Linked DNA regions of Homo sapiens: region 1 is linked to region 2. Evidence: promoter capture Hi-C in 16 types of primary human blood cells and fetal thymus (Javierre and others, 2016). All regions are on one chromosome and are shown on one strand. Each heading gives the region's core, a stretch centred on a gene start or on the middle of the fragment in contact. The rest is flanking DNA. Distances are from core to core; before and after follow the strand shown.

What was found. Contacts are between HindIII fragments. The CHiCAGO score rates a contact against its expected background, and 5 or more counts as called.
Region 1: a fragment that was not itself captured here is called in contact with the fragment with the promoter of TAT in region 2 in 2 of 17 cell types (naive B cells and total B cells); the score reaches 6.1 in naive B cells.

The regions. Positions count from the first base shown.
Region 1 is chr16:71,405,407-71,412,230 of GRCh38, reverse strand. It overlaps LINC02136 (long intergenic non-protein coding RNA 2136), which reads left to right. Exons shown (of 3, transcript NR_146574.1): 3 at 1,697-1,790. Among named protein-coding and RNA genes, the nearest start is that of LINC02136, 18 kb to the left of the region's middle. RefSeq lists an enhancer at 1-209. The HindIII fragment of the contact is 1,539 bases long and covers 3,245-4,783 here.
Region 2 is chr16:71,575,842-71,583,368 of GRCh38, reverse strand. It overlaps TAT (tyrosine aminotransferase), which reads left to right and starts at 6,277. Exons shown (of 12, transcript NM_000353.3): 1 at 6,277-6,360; 2 at 6,942-7,188; 3 at 7,343-7,447. The coding sequence starts at 6,954. The HindIII fragment of the contact is 5,727 bases long and covers 955-6,681 here.

The DNA of each region.
Region 1 (6,824 bases), core at 2,765-5,264, 170 kb after region 2:
CCCATTCAGAAATGCAAAATGGCCCAGTACCTTGAGCACAGGTCTAGTCCCTACTGTGCCCTGCCTGGCTGTGTGATCTTGACACATTCATCTCCCCTTTGTGGGCCTGCTTCTCCCTCATCCAATGCATCCCCCAAGCCATCCTGGGCTGTGGTGCTGCTCCCCAGACAACAGGGAGTTGGACTCATGGTTTTGGGGGGCTCACATTGCCCTTAGGGGGCCAGAGTCAAGGGAATCACCTTTTTTTTTTTTTTTTTTTTTTTTTTTTTGCCTTCTGCTGTAGGGCCTGGTTCTGGGCTGGACTTTCCCCATCCTCTTCCTGAAAGCCACCCTTGTTCAATCATGGGGACAAGATACAGTCCAGGAAAGGAGCTAGGGCCCTCCTAAGAGATGATCCCGAATAGGGCCCAGCTGTGGACAGGATGATCTCTTTTCCAGCCGGGCGCCATGGTTCATGCCTGTAATCCCAGCACTTTGGGAGGCCGAGGTGGGAGGATCACTTGAGGTCAGGAGTTCGAGATCAGCCTGGCCAACACAGTGAAACTCCTTCTCTACTAAAAATACAAAAAATTAGCTGGATGTGGTGGTGCATGCCTAGAATCCCAGCTACTTGGGAGGCTGAGGCAGGAGAATCACTTGAGCCTCTGGGAGGTGGAGGTTGCAGTGAGCCAAGATTGCGCCTGGGTGATAGAGTGAGATTCAGTCTCAAAATAAAATAAAAACGCCAAATCCCTTTTCTGTTAGTTGTCAAACACACTAGACATCAGGACACGGTGGTCCTGGCTACATGACTGCCTTGTAACAGTGAGAAATATCCAGAGATGGGATGCATGTTAGAGTTGAATGGGGTTTGTCCCGGGGAGAGAGGGGAACCAAAGGAATAGCAAGAGGGTGGGGAGCTTAGCTTTAAAATAATGTTTTGGCTGGACATGGTGGCTCATGCCTGTAATCCCAGCACTTTGGGAGGCCGAGGTCAGGAGTTTGAAACCAGCCTAGCCAACATAGTGAAACCCCATCTCTACTAAAACTACAAAAATTAGCTGGGCATGGCGGCACATGCTGTAATTCTAGCTACTTGGGAGGCTGAGGTACGAGAATCGCTTGAACCCAGGAGGCAGAGGTTGCAGTGAGCTGAGATCGTGCCACTGCATTCCAGCCTGGGCGATGGAGTGAGACTCAGTCTCAAAAAAAAAAAAAATGTTTTACTCATTTAAAAAATTGGTCTGGTGTACCTACGGCAAATGGGTGGGACTTGCTAAATCTGGTTGGCTGTTGCTTTCTGAAACACAGATTTTAGACTTGAATATATGCATTTGCAAACTCTAAGACATATGCGCCTCTGAACACAGTCTGGGTGAATGCAGTTTGATTGTCACAGGCTTCCGACAGAGTTGCAGGTGTTGTATTGCGTGGTTTTCAACAGCAATCAGACCAAAAGGGTGACTACTAGCATGTGAAAACAGAGGATAAGCTTCCTGGGCTCAAACTCCTGAGCTGGAAGTCAGTTCCAGGCCATAGTGTCCAGCCAGAGGAGGACAGCAAGATCGACTCCTGCGTGACCAGTAGCTCACCTGGTCCAAATGTAGCCTCTTACTATAAAACAAAGGCAGAGAGAGACTGAGGGAACTGGAAAGAGGTTCAATGGAGGAAAAATAAGGCAACCTCAGGGATTCACTTTTACTCTCATTTCATTAAGTTCCAGATATTGGCAGACTGCTGGCCTCCTGAGGAGCACAGGAAGGGGCCTGGCAGACTGGTGATCCTGGTTGGAGATGAAGAGGGGCTGATTAAGAGGAGCTGACTGAGGCTGGGAGGTTTCCTGCCCGGGAGTGGCGAGCCTGTCAGAGCTGCACCTGGGCCTACCTGTACCTAGGAGAGATTCAGGGTATGGTTGGCTTCCCACAAACACCTGGGGCTCGAGGAGTGCGCTGCCTCTGTTCCACACCTGATGTGATCCACATCCACGCCCATGCACCTGGCCAGGAGAGTGACTGTCACTGATGAGGCAGTGTGATAGTACCTCTGATGGTTTCTCTGAGATCAGCCTTTGCACTTCACCTGTGTGGGCCAGATGGAAAGCCAGGGTGGAGACGGAGCACCCTGGGTCAGCTGGGATCCCACCGTGCGATTCCACGGCATGGGGTGTCAGAACCTGGAGTGCCGGTGGTGGCCAGAGCAGGGGTGGGGTGGCATTCCTGTGTCTCTGCCACTCACTGGCTGTGTCACCACAGAAAAGTCATCTAAACCTCTCGGTGCCCCAGTCTTGTTCTCTGTCCATGGCAATTCGGGTAGACCTGACCCGGTTGGATGGCTCTGAGGTTTCAATGAGGTATCATACATGCAAATGGTTTTTTTGGAGCCAGGTTCTTTTTATTTAAAAAGATTTTTTAAAATGGGAATACTCGCTAAAAAGAGTACCTGACCTCAGCTGGGCACAATGGCTCACACCTGTAATCCCAGCACTTTGGGAGGCCAAGGCGGGTGGATCACGAGGTCAGGAGATGGAGACCTGTAGTCCCAGCTACTCGGGAGGCTGAAGCAGGAGAATCGCTTGAACCCAGGAGGTGAGATTGCAGTGAGCTGAGATCACGCCACCGCTCTCCAGCCTGAGTGACAGAGCGAGACAAAAAAAAAAGAAAAAGGAAAAGAACCTGACTTCAGTATCTTTGGGTGTCTGGGATTGAGGAGTGTTCCTGAATGGGCATCAGGGATTGATGAACACTTGTGTAAGAGTTAAAGAAAGAGGAAAAAAACATGAAATTTTTAAAGACAGGTTTACTTTAGATAAAACCTGGAGGGGCTTCTGGCCGATTTTGGTCAGGGGCGCTTTCTGTTACAGACTAAAAGTATATATTGGTTTTAGGGTGAGGGTCTTATCACAAGCTTGGAATGTTTTTGGGTCAGGGAGAAGTCTATAGCCGGGTCGGAATGTTTCTGGGCAGAGAGGAGGTTATCTTGGGGCTGACGTCTTTCCGGCAGGAGGGAGGTTAGTTATCTTGGGGCTGGCATCTTCCCAGCCAGAGGGGGGTTATCTTGGGGCTAGCATGTCTCTGGTTGGGGAGGAGTTTGGAATGTTTCTGGTCGGAGATGTTATTTGTAGTTTCTGGTCATGCCGACCTTAGCCATTAGGCTGATGCCTTTTGGCTTTAGGCGGTTTTTGATTAAGATGAATTTTAAAATAAGGTGCTTGTCCACAATGGCAAGGCCCCTGCTCTGTCACCTTGCCCCCCAAAATTGCAAAGCTTTGTTTCTGTGTATGCATGTATAAATATTTTTTTTTCCCTTAGGAGCAAAGGCAATAGCTTAACTAAGATGTTCAGAGGGATCATGACATAAAGACTGGATGCCTGGGGTTGGGGTCAGGGGCGTGTTTCAGGTGCCTTTATTTTATACCAGAGTTTCCCAACCTGGGGAATCTTGCCATGTGGGGCCAAATCATTCCTTGTTGTTGTGGACTGACTTGTGCATTGCAGGGTGATTAGCAGCATCTCTGGCTCTACCCACTAGATACCAGTAGCACCCTCCACCCCATCCCCACCTCGTTTCACCAATAAAAAATGTCTTCAGACATTGCTCAATGTCTTTGGGGAGGTGAGAGTGGGACAAAATTGCCCCCAACTGAGAACTGCTGCTTTGTGATGTTCCTAGTGGAGTTGAGCCCTCGATAAGTGGTTGTTATTTGCTGTGTTGAAGTTTGGCAAGATTTCTCTTCTGGGCTTTATTGATCTCTTCCTATTTCTGTGCACTGCTTAAAGGGAAAGTCGACGACTACAGGGCTTCCAAACTGCAGCCCCATTGGATATAAAGTACGAGTTCCTTAATCTGGTAGGGCAGCCTGATCAACTGGAACTTGGTTCTTACTGTGTTTCTCGTTATGCAAACCTTAAGGATTCCAGCCTGGACAACATAGTGAGACCCTGTCTCTACAAAAAAAAAAAAAAAAAAAAGAGAGGAAAAAAAAAAAGAAACGAAATTCAGCAGAGCCCAGTGGCATGCCCCTGTAGTCTCAGCTATGCAGGAAGCTGAGGTGGGAGGATCACTTGAGCCCAGGAGTTCAAGGTTGCAGTGAGCTATAATTGTGCCACTGCACTCCAGCCTGGGTGACAGAGTGAGATCCTGTCTCTAAACAAACAAACAAACAAACACCCTAAAGGTTTTTGAGAGCATTAAGTGCAACATAAACCTTTCAGTCCTTTACTATTAAAATATGAGCTACAATTAAAATGAAACAGTTAATTTTGTGGGGAGCAAGATCTTGAGATAATCTTCATTTGTGGTGAATACATTTCTGTTTAACCACAAGCCTCAGAATTAGTAGTTCCTCATTCAGAGGAAAGATCAGAGAAGGGTCTTATGGAGAAGGACCAGCAGGAGACAGAGGTGGAAGAGTTGGATGCATTTGAAGTCTCCACTATTTAGGAGGTGGCCTAAAAGATCCTGGGGAGTGGGTGGGCACCTCCTTTTGGCACCCCGGATGTGAGGAGGGTCTCCAACACTGATTTTGGCTGCTGCTTTGTTGCACCATCCTCTATGGATGGTTCGGCTCTTCTCTTGTTTGGCTTCTTATACACCTGCTCTAAAATCTCCCCAGGAATTCCATACAATTCACAGAAGTGTTGCTGCTCTGGAGTGAGAAATGTTCCTCCAGATTTTGGAGAAACTTTCTTTCTGAATGTCTCCAGAGCTTGCTTCGGAGCAGCCCTTCAGTCACAAGTTTAGCAGCATAATAATTCCTCCTTGCTGAGGTTGTCCCAGGAATGACACAGAGCACCAGAAGCAAGCTTTGGAAACACAGCTGGTACAACAAGGAGCGCCTCTATGCCTTGGCGTAGAGAAGCAGGTTCTAGTTTTGCCCTGAGTTGGTTGATGGCCCCAGGTATCACATGGAATATCTTTCTATTACAAGAATCAGCATGGAGTTGAGCTCTAGGACAAACGTCTCAATGGTGTTGGGCATGGCCATTGGAGCCTCCTTTCTGATCATGTAGACCTGGGCCATCATTTGTGCAGCTGGTCCTGTGAACTCGGTGCTTAAGATTCCAATTAGCACCTTGCGATAGCATGGTTGTGCCACAGAAAAAGGTAACATAGGTGGAGATGTCCAGAATTGGGCGAGGTGTGTGCACCGTAGAAATGCTGCTGGCTGTTTTCAAGGCATTGAAGAAGCTCTCTGCAGAGGTGGCTATTATCCCCGGACTCTCTAAATAATGATACTAGAATGTCGGTTGCAGCATGATGAGACCAAATCAGTGTGGAAAGTCATCACCGTTTCAGATATTCTGGTTTCCTGTGAGTGTTGTGGTCACAGTGCTGGGGTTTCAGATTTGGAGTCAATTGCAAACACGCCTCCAAGGATACCTCTCTTAAAGCCAGGCACGCTGCACAGAGGATTGTGGTGCAGATTATCCTAGCAGTGTTGAGTCCTCTCATTTGCTATGTATACAGACAGCATAGCCAATGTTGAAGCACGTCCAGCCTCCAGCCTCCACAGATGGGACCCCAGTCTCCTGAATCTAACTCAGGAGAACCAGGGAGGGAGGCTGAGGAGCTGTTGATTGGGCTGACACTGGATTCGCCATCATTTTGGGAACCGGGTTGGTTCCTCTTTGATACTTTGACACGGTACCTTTTGTGTACTTACCTGCAGAAGTGAAGGTTGCAGCAAAGCACAGATGCAAGGTCAGGAGAGACCCCAGGTGAGCCCTGGGACAAAGTGGAGGGGCTTCCCCAGCAGGCGCAGTCCCCAGTTGAGGTTGAGCTCCCCAGTGAGGGATGAGGACTTTGTGGCTTGGCTCGTGATTGGTGGTGGGAGGAAATAGTTTGGTGGCAGTCTTTTACAGTGGTCAAAAAGATTTTTTTTTTAATCTCAAACCTCAGATTATTGTCTGCATATACCTGCTCAGGCAAAAGGAAGTCCTTATTTAGGGAAAGCACAGATTGTGTTTTTTTCAAGAAGGTTTAAGAAGAACCCTAAGTGGGAAGAAGAAGAGGCTTAGGAATTCCTCCTGGTGGGTGGTGGTCTCCCTTGTCATGGTGTGATCATGGAAATCATGGAAACCATGGGCAGCCTCTGATGCCCAGCTCTTTAGAGGAGAAGGGTCTCTTGTATGTATTGGTGGGGCCTCAGCTGTATCTAATAGGAGGTAGGTACTGCACTGGAGGCCTCAGATGGCCCTAGGAACTAGTCTTGAGGCCTCCAGTCTACACTGGGCCCCTTCAGCAAAAAGAGAAAGACCTCACAGGTTGGCTGTTGGTGGTGGGAGGAAGACCTCACCCATGTGGGTGTAGGGCCAGAACTCTGGTGGTCGAGGGTATCTTCTGGGAAGTCTCTGATGACTGTTACTTCTCAGGGCTGTTTGGAGGGACACAGTTGGTTGAAGAGTCTCTCTTCCTTTGTGTATTTGCCCAGAAATGTGTCTCAAGTGACTCTGTGGCAAGAGCTCTTTTTTTTTTTGTTTTTTTTTTTTGTTTTTTTTTTTGAGACGGAGTCTCGCTCTGTCGCCCAGGCTGGAGTGCAGTGGCGGGATCTCGGCTCACTGCAAGCTCCGCCTCCCAGGTTCACGCCATTCTCCTGCCTCAGCCTCCCAAGTAGCTGGGACTACAGGCGCCTGCCACTACGCCCGGCTAATTTTTTGTATTTTTAGTAGAGACGGGGTTTCACCGTTTTAGCCGGGATGGTCTCGATCTCCTGACCTCGTGATCCGCCCGCCTCGGCCTCCCAAAGTGCTGGGATTACAGGCGTGAGCCACTGCGCCCGGCTGGCAAGAGCTCTTTTAACACCCTGTGCCATGAAAAGGGGTTTGTGGTGTTCTTGTTCAGAATGC
Region 2 (7,527 bases), core at 5,028-7,527:
ATGGCGCTATTTCACAAATACTTTTCTATCAGAAAGTGGAAAGGTAGTTGTGAAGGGCTAAGGGGAAATTGAAGGGGGAATTCGTGCTTAATGGGTGTAGAGCTTCAGTTTTACAAGATGAAACAGTTCTGGAGATCTGTTGTACAACAACGTGAATAAACTAAACTGTACATTTAAAAATGTTTAAGTTGGCTGGGCATGCTGGCTTATGCCTGTAATCCCAGTACTTTGGGAGGCTGACGTGGGAGGATCACTTGAGGCCAGGAGCTCAAGACCAGCCTGGACAACATAGCGAGATCCCGTCTCTACGATAAAATAAAAAATTGGCAGGGCGTGGTGGTGTGTATCTGTAGTTCTAGCTGCTCTGAAGGCTGGGGTATGAGGATCACTTGAGCCCAGGAGTTTGAGGCTGCAGTGAGCTATGATCACACCACTGCACTCCAGCCTGGGCAACAGAGCCAGGCCCTGCCTCTTAAAAAAAGTTAAGATGGTAAATTTAATGTTAAGTATTTTTTTTTACCACAATTAAAAAATTTTAAATACAAAATGGCAAACAACAATTTTATACTTAAGAAAAAAAAAGGCCAGGTGTGGTGGCTCACACCAGTAATCCTAGCACTTTGAGAGGCTGAGGCGGGTGGATCACCTGAGGACAGGAGTTCGAGACCAACCTGGCCAACATGGTGAACCCCTGTCTCTACTAAAAATACAAAAAATTAGCCGAGAGTGGTGGTGGACACCTGTAATCCCAGCTACTTGGGAGGCTGAGGCAAGAGAAACGCTTGAACATGGGAGGCGGAGGTTGCAGTGAGCTGAGATAGTGCCATTGCACTTCAGTCTGGGCAACAAGAACGAAACTTTGTCTTAAAACAAACGAACAAACAAAAAACGAGTGTTTCTACACTTTACTGGGTCCTGACTTCCCTGTAAAGTTTATCTGGCATCAGGAAAGCTTCCTAAGTAGACTTGGGTCCTCTCACGTTCTCTCTGTCTGCATTTTTTTTTTTTTTTTGAGACGGAGTCTCGCTCTGTCGGAGCACTTTCGGCTCACTGCAAGCTCCGCCTCCTGGGTTCACACCATTCTCCTGCCTCGGCCTCCAGGTGGGACTACAGGCGCCCGCCACCATGCCAGGCTAATTTTTTTTTTTTTTTTTGTATTTTTAGTAGAGACGGGGTTTCACCGTGTTAGCCAGGATGGTCTCGATCTCCTGACCTTGTGATCCACCCGCCTCGGCCTCCCAACGTGCTGGGATTACAGGCGTGAGCCACCGCGCCTGGCCCTCTCTGTCTGCTTTCTACCGAGGGAAAACATTAGCTACAGAAGAGCGCATGACCAAAACTTGTTTGCCTTGTCTGTTTTTCCTTCTGATTTAGGTTTCGTTGTCAACTGCCAAAGCCGAGGCGAGGGTGTGTCCATGGTGATGACCTTCTGGTACAGCAGCTCTTGTCCCCATCACACACCCCTTGGCCTGCAGATTCTGCGTCAGCGGCACTATTTGCAGGACAACCCGCCAAAATTTTGTGCTGCTTGCTGTTTTTTGATCTGTAAACCTGAGTCTCAGCCAGTCAGGTTGACACAGAGGAGACTGGGCCAGTGATCTCAAAGCAGCTGTCTTGTTGCTTTGCAGTGGCTTCCTAGGCCAAAGTCCTACCTACGAGAAAGATGAGTCCCCTTGTAGACAGACGGGTGAGGGACATGAACAGACAATTCACAAAATGGGAAGAGCAAAGAAACATGAAACATGACCACCCTCGCTAAAATAGAGGGGACAGAGTTAACAGAAATAACAGCAGCACTTGGATACCATTTTTCCTCCATCAATCAGTTTGGCAAAGATTTTTTTAAGAAAATAATTCCCAGGGTTTGCAGACAATTACTGATAGAAAGGTAAATGGCCTTTTTTAAAGCAATGTGGCTGTGTGTATAAAAAACTGTAAGAATGTTCATTCTGGAATAGCATATGCCAGAAAGAGAGTCAAGAAGATACAGGAATTTAGTACAAAGTGACATTTTAAGTAAGGAAGAAGACAGATTTCCTTTTCTGGCTGTATTGAGGACAGGATAACCTAGAAAATCTTCCATTACAAAAATATTTAGACATACTTGATAAAATATAACAAAATGCCTGAGCTCCCAAGATAAAAAGGGAAGACCCCAGGGGTCACAACCTATAAGGGAATAATCTAAGTCTCCTGGTTTAATGTCCAGTTGGAGACAGGACACCAATCTTACAGGCTGTGTAAATGTGGGAGGGGGAGTTGGATCCGTGTCTCCTTGAAAATCTGAACCTTGAGGCCAGGTGCAGTGGCTCACGCCTGTAATCCCAGCACTTTGGGAGGCCGAGGCGGGAGGATCACTTGATGTCAGGAGTTCAAGACCAGCCTGGCCAATATGGTGAAACCCCGTCTCTACTAAAAATACAAAAATTAGCCGGATGTGGTAGTGTGTGCCTGTAGTCCCAGCTACTCGGGAGGCTGAGGCAGGAGAATGGCATGAACCCGGGAGGCGGAGGTTGCCGTGAACTGAGATAGCGTCGTTGCACTCCAGCTTGGGTGAGGAGGGTGAGACTCCGTCTCAAAAAAAAGAAAAGAAAATCTGAACCTTGAGTGACAGAAATCAGTCATAGTAGCCTTCTCACATTGAGAAAAATCTGATTCTTACTTGATCTCTTTTAAAGACCAGTGGTCTCAACCTCTGACAAAGATTCTCTGATTGACCAGACTTTTGTCAGGCTTCTGGATCTTCTTCTAAGCCCATCTGCACTTCCTTGCAAGATCCAGTTTTAGCAAAGAACCCTGAGTCATTTTGGCAAGATTTCCCACCCTGCATATCTGACCAGGTTCCTCATTCTTTGCCGTCCCCCAGGGAATGTTTGGTCACCATGGCCTGTCTTCAGCAGGATGACACTGACACTGGCCTTCTAGGTCAGTTTAGCAGAATCCCCCTTACTCCTGATGATTCCTCTTACTTTTTCCATCCTTGGCTATAAATCCACACTTGCCATCACCATATTTGGAGTTGAATCCAATTTCTCTTCCCCACTGGAAAATCCATTGCAGTGGGCCGTCTAGCTATTGGAATGGTCCTGAATAAAGTCTGCCTTACCATGCTTTAACAAGTGTTATTGAATAATTTTTTTTAACACCTCTGAGTCTCTGTCCACCTGGAGAACCACTACAGTAACACTCAGTGAGGTACCTGTGTCATCTCTCAAGCACAGTATATTGTCATGACAGGTAGTCTGAACTCCAAGAGGTTGTTCAAATTAAACATATTTGCATTGCTTTCGTCTTTGTATAGTCCGTAATTGAAACTATCCCTCAAATAACAGGATATGCATAAAAGTTCTCTATCAATCATGAATGTACAAGGACATTCGATATGCTTTATTTTTTATTTTATTTATTTATTTATTGAGACAGAGTCTGGCTCTGTCGCCCAGGCTGGAGTGCAGTGGCGCGACCTCAGTTCACTGCAAGCTCCACCTCCCGGATTCATGCCATTCTCCTCCCTCAGCCTCCCGAGTAGCTGGGACTACAGGCACCCGCCACCAGGCTGGGCTAACTTTTGTATTTTTAGCGGAGATGGGGTTTCACGGTGTTAGCCAGGATGGTCTCCATCTCCTGACCTCGTGATCCGCCTGCCTCAGCAACCCCAAAGTGCTGGGATTATAGGCGTGAGCCACCACACCAGGCTATTTATTTTTATTTTTTATTTTTTGAGACGGAGTCTCACTCTGTCGCCCAGACTGGAGTGCAGTGGCACGATCTCGGCTCACCACAACCTCCACCTCCTGGGTTCAAGCGATTCTCCTGCCTCAGCCTCCTGAGTTGCTGGGATTACAGGTGTGCACCACTGTGCCTGGCTAATTGTTGTATTTTTAGTAGAGATGGGGTTTTGCCATGTTGGCCAGGTTGGTCTTGAACTCCTGATCTCAGATGATCTGCCTGCCTTGGCCTCCAAAGTGCTGGGGTTACAGGCATGAGCTGCCACGCCCAGCCCACACATTATTAAGATTTTAAAAAAAGCAAGCTACAGAACAGCCCTGTCCAATAGACAGAATGCAAGCCACATAGTGACTTCAAATTTCCTAATAGAAATATTTTAAGATATAAAAACAAATAGGTGAAATTAATTTTAAGAATGTATTTTATTTTACTCAGCACACCATGTATTTTATTATCATATATTTTATTATATATTTTATTATATATATACGGTGTACTGAGTAAAATAAAATACATTTTATATATATATATACATATATATATATATATATATATTTTTTTTTTTTTTTTTTTCTGAGGCAAGGTCTCATTCTGTCACCCAGGCTGGAGTGCAATGGCATGATCACAGCTCTCTGCAGCCTTGACCTCCTGGGTTCAGGTGATCTTCCTACCTCAGCCTCCCAAGTAGCTGGGACTATAGGCTCATGCCACCATGCCTGGCTAGTTTTTGTATCTTTTTGTATAGACGGGGTTTCACTATGTTGCCCAAGCTGGTCTTGAATTCCTTAGCTCAAGTGATCCATCCACCTTGGCCTCCCGAAAGGCTGGGATTACCAAAGGTGTGAGCCACCATGCCCAGCCCCAAAATATTCTTTAAACATGTAATCATACAAAATTATATGAGATATTAACATTCTTTTTTTATACTAAGTCTTCAAAACCTGATGTGTATTTTACAACACATCTTAATTCAGACCAGTCACATTTCAAGTATTCAACGGCCACTTATGACTAGTAGCTACAATATTAGACAGTGCAACTATAGACCACGTTTACTCTCCATTTTTTTAGCAACTCCCAAACCAGCTTTATACGTATTGTAATAAACATAGAAAACATTTGGAAGGGTACACAAGAAATGACTAAAAATGATTTTTTTATATAAAATGAGAATGCAGGGAGGGAAGGTGATCAGGGTTTAATTCACGTACATCTCTATTTGAATTTATTATATAAGGATATATCATATTTACTAAAAATGTAAAAGAGAAATGCTTATTCTTTGCAACACAGTCCTTGTATAGAAATCTGTCTTAAGGAAATAATCAAATATGTAAACTAACATTTATGACAAGGATGCCCTTGGCCCAAGACGTGAATAATTTTTTCTAGTGTATCCATGCTATAGACGTTACCTGCCATTACTGTATAAGAAAAAACATAGTGTACCTAGGGCTCAGTACTACCCATGGTTTCAGACATCCATAATTTCAGGCATCCACTGGAGGTCTTGGAGTGTGCTCCCTGTGGATAAGGGGGGACTACTGTATTCAACCCCACTGGAGGCTTGACTCCCTGAAAAGTGAATGGAGAAGAACAAACTGATGTGAAAAATCTTTGTCTTCCAACAAATAAACAGACAGGATCTGAGCCCTGGGGAGATCACTGAGGCTTCTCTTAACCCTTCAGTGGGTGGTATTTTCCATCTGCTCACAGGAATGTTGAGATTTTGGCTGTGGACCTTGTGTTTTGCTTAGCAAAGTTGTTTTGTGTGGATCGCACCTGACATTTTAAATTCTTCCAACAACCATAGGAGGTAAATGAAGAATTCATGCACAGTGCAAGGATAAAACTGCACAGGTTTCAGCTGCCTTGGACACCCTGTGCTTTTCAGCTATTTGTTGAATGGAACTTAAGTGCCCAATTTGTTCTGATTGGAGCAAAACTTTGTGGACTGACAAGGATGGGCGTCCAAGATGTAGGAAGTTAAAAAAAAAATGTTGCCAAACAAGGTGTAGAGCACGATCCTATCTGTGTTTTGAAATCTATGAAATTATGTATCTATGCACCTATATGTAATGTATCTATCTCTGAATGGAGGGAAAGAGCCTGACCATTACCACCCTCTACCCCTGGGAGTGAGAATGAAGTGTACAGGGAGCAGGTGCAAGGAAGAATGCTCACTTCTTACTTTATATATTTCTGTACTGTTAAAATTTTAACAGGCTGTTTTGTAAAAAAAATTTAATAAAAGCTATCAACTGTAACCAGAAGTACTTTCTGACAGTAGATGTTCTCAAACCATCTCACCAAGTGCCCAGAAAGAGTTAACACAGGAGAATTCCAGATGTTTGAAGTGAGGACAAATTCCTGCTTTGAGGGTGGGAGGTGGGCTTAGGGATGAGAGGCAATGACGGGGGAGAGGAGGAAAGAAGCTGAGGGGAGAGCTGGCTGCTGAGTTGTCATTCCAACCAATGGCATGAAAGTTTCAAGCCCAACGCCCATTTGTGGAGACTATTTCAGGAGTTAGGATTTGCATCTGAGTTCATTGCCCCTGTAACCTGTCAAAGAAGAGCTAAGGGAGCTTTCGGGGTTGGCTTCTTGGAGGCTGCTTTCTCCTTTACTTGGAAGGTAAAAATCTCAAGCCCAAGCTGATCAGGCAGTGGTGACTGATTGAGCTGTTAATTTTTTTCTTTTTGGTGTATTGATTTCTTTTTCCAGCTAGGGCTGTAACATGCTTATGGGATAAGGTTTTACTTTTACTAACAATGATATTTACATGGAACTTCTAACAAGATGGAGTGGTTCTTCCTGGTCCTCTGCAGATGACAAGAAGCATTAGGTAGATTTTCTTGGATAGGCTCGCATGGAAAGGAAGGAGAACCTATGCTTTGACTGATGAACAATTTTCATCTTATTCCTTCTTGGTTTCACATAGAGCATGGTTAAGCTTTGACAGGAATTGCAGATGCGTGTAGCAAATCCTACTTAAGTAGAATGGGTTCTTGCTTTATTTTCCATCTCAGTAAAAACTCTTAAAACTCCCCCATTCATAGTAAAGCTACTTTACAACAGAAAGTAGAAAAAAAAATAAAGAGAGAGTTTGGAAAGACACTTTTAGTGAAGTCACCCAATGTTTAGGTCCAAATGTAGCTCCTCTGTCCCCCAGCGCTATGTTATCAACATCACAGGGAACTTCTTTCCCCTCGCAGGCTTCGCTAGTGATGGACCCATACATGATTCAGATGAGCAGCAAAGGCAACCTCCCCTCAATTCTGGACGTGCATGTCAACGTTGGTGGGAGAAGCTCTGTGCCGGGAAAAATGAAAGGCAGAAAGGCCAGGTGGTCTGTGAGGCCCTCAGACATGGCCAAGAAAACTTTCAACCCCATCCGAGCCATTGTGGACAACATGAAGGTGAAACCAAATCCAAACAAAACCATGATTTCCCTGTCCATTGGTGAGTTGGGGACACTACTGAGGGGCTGTCATTGTCCTCCTCTACTCTCATGTTCACAGGCTGGTTGGAGAAGATGGCAGTTGGGGGTGAGTCTGAGTACTGAACATGGGAGAATAACCTCTTGGCTCCTTTTGTGTTTTCCTCCCATAAAAAGGGGACCCTACTGTGTTTGGAAACCTGCCTACAGACCCTGAAGTTACCCAGGCAATGAAAGATGCCCTGGACTCGGGCAAATATAATGGCTATGCCCCATCCATCGGTAAGCTCCTCCTGAGACTCCATACCTGGTGACTGCCAAATCTTTAGTGCTCTTATAACAGGACTAAATGTCTAGCAATC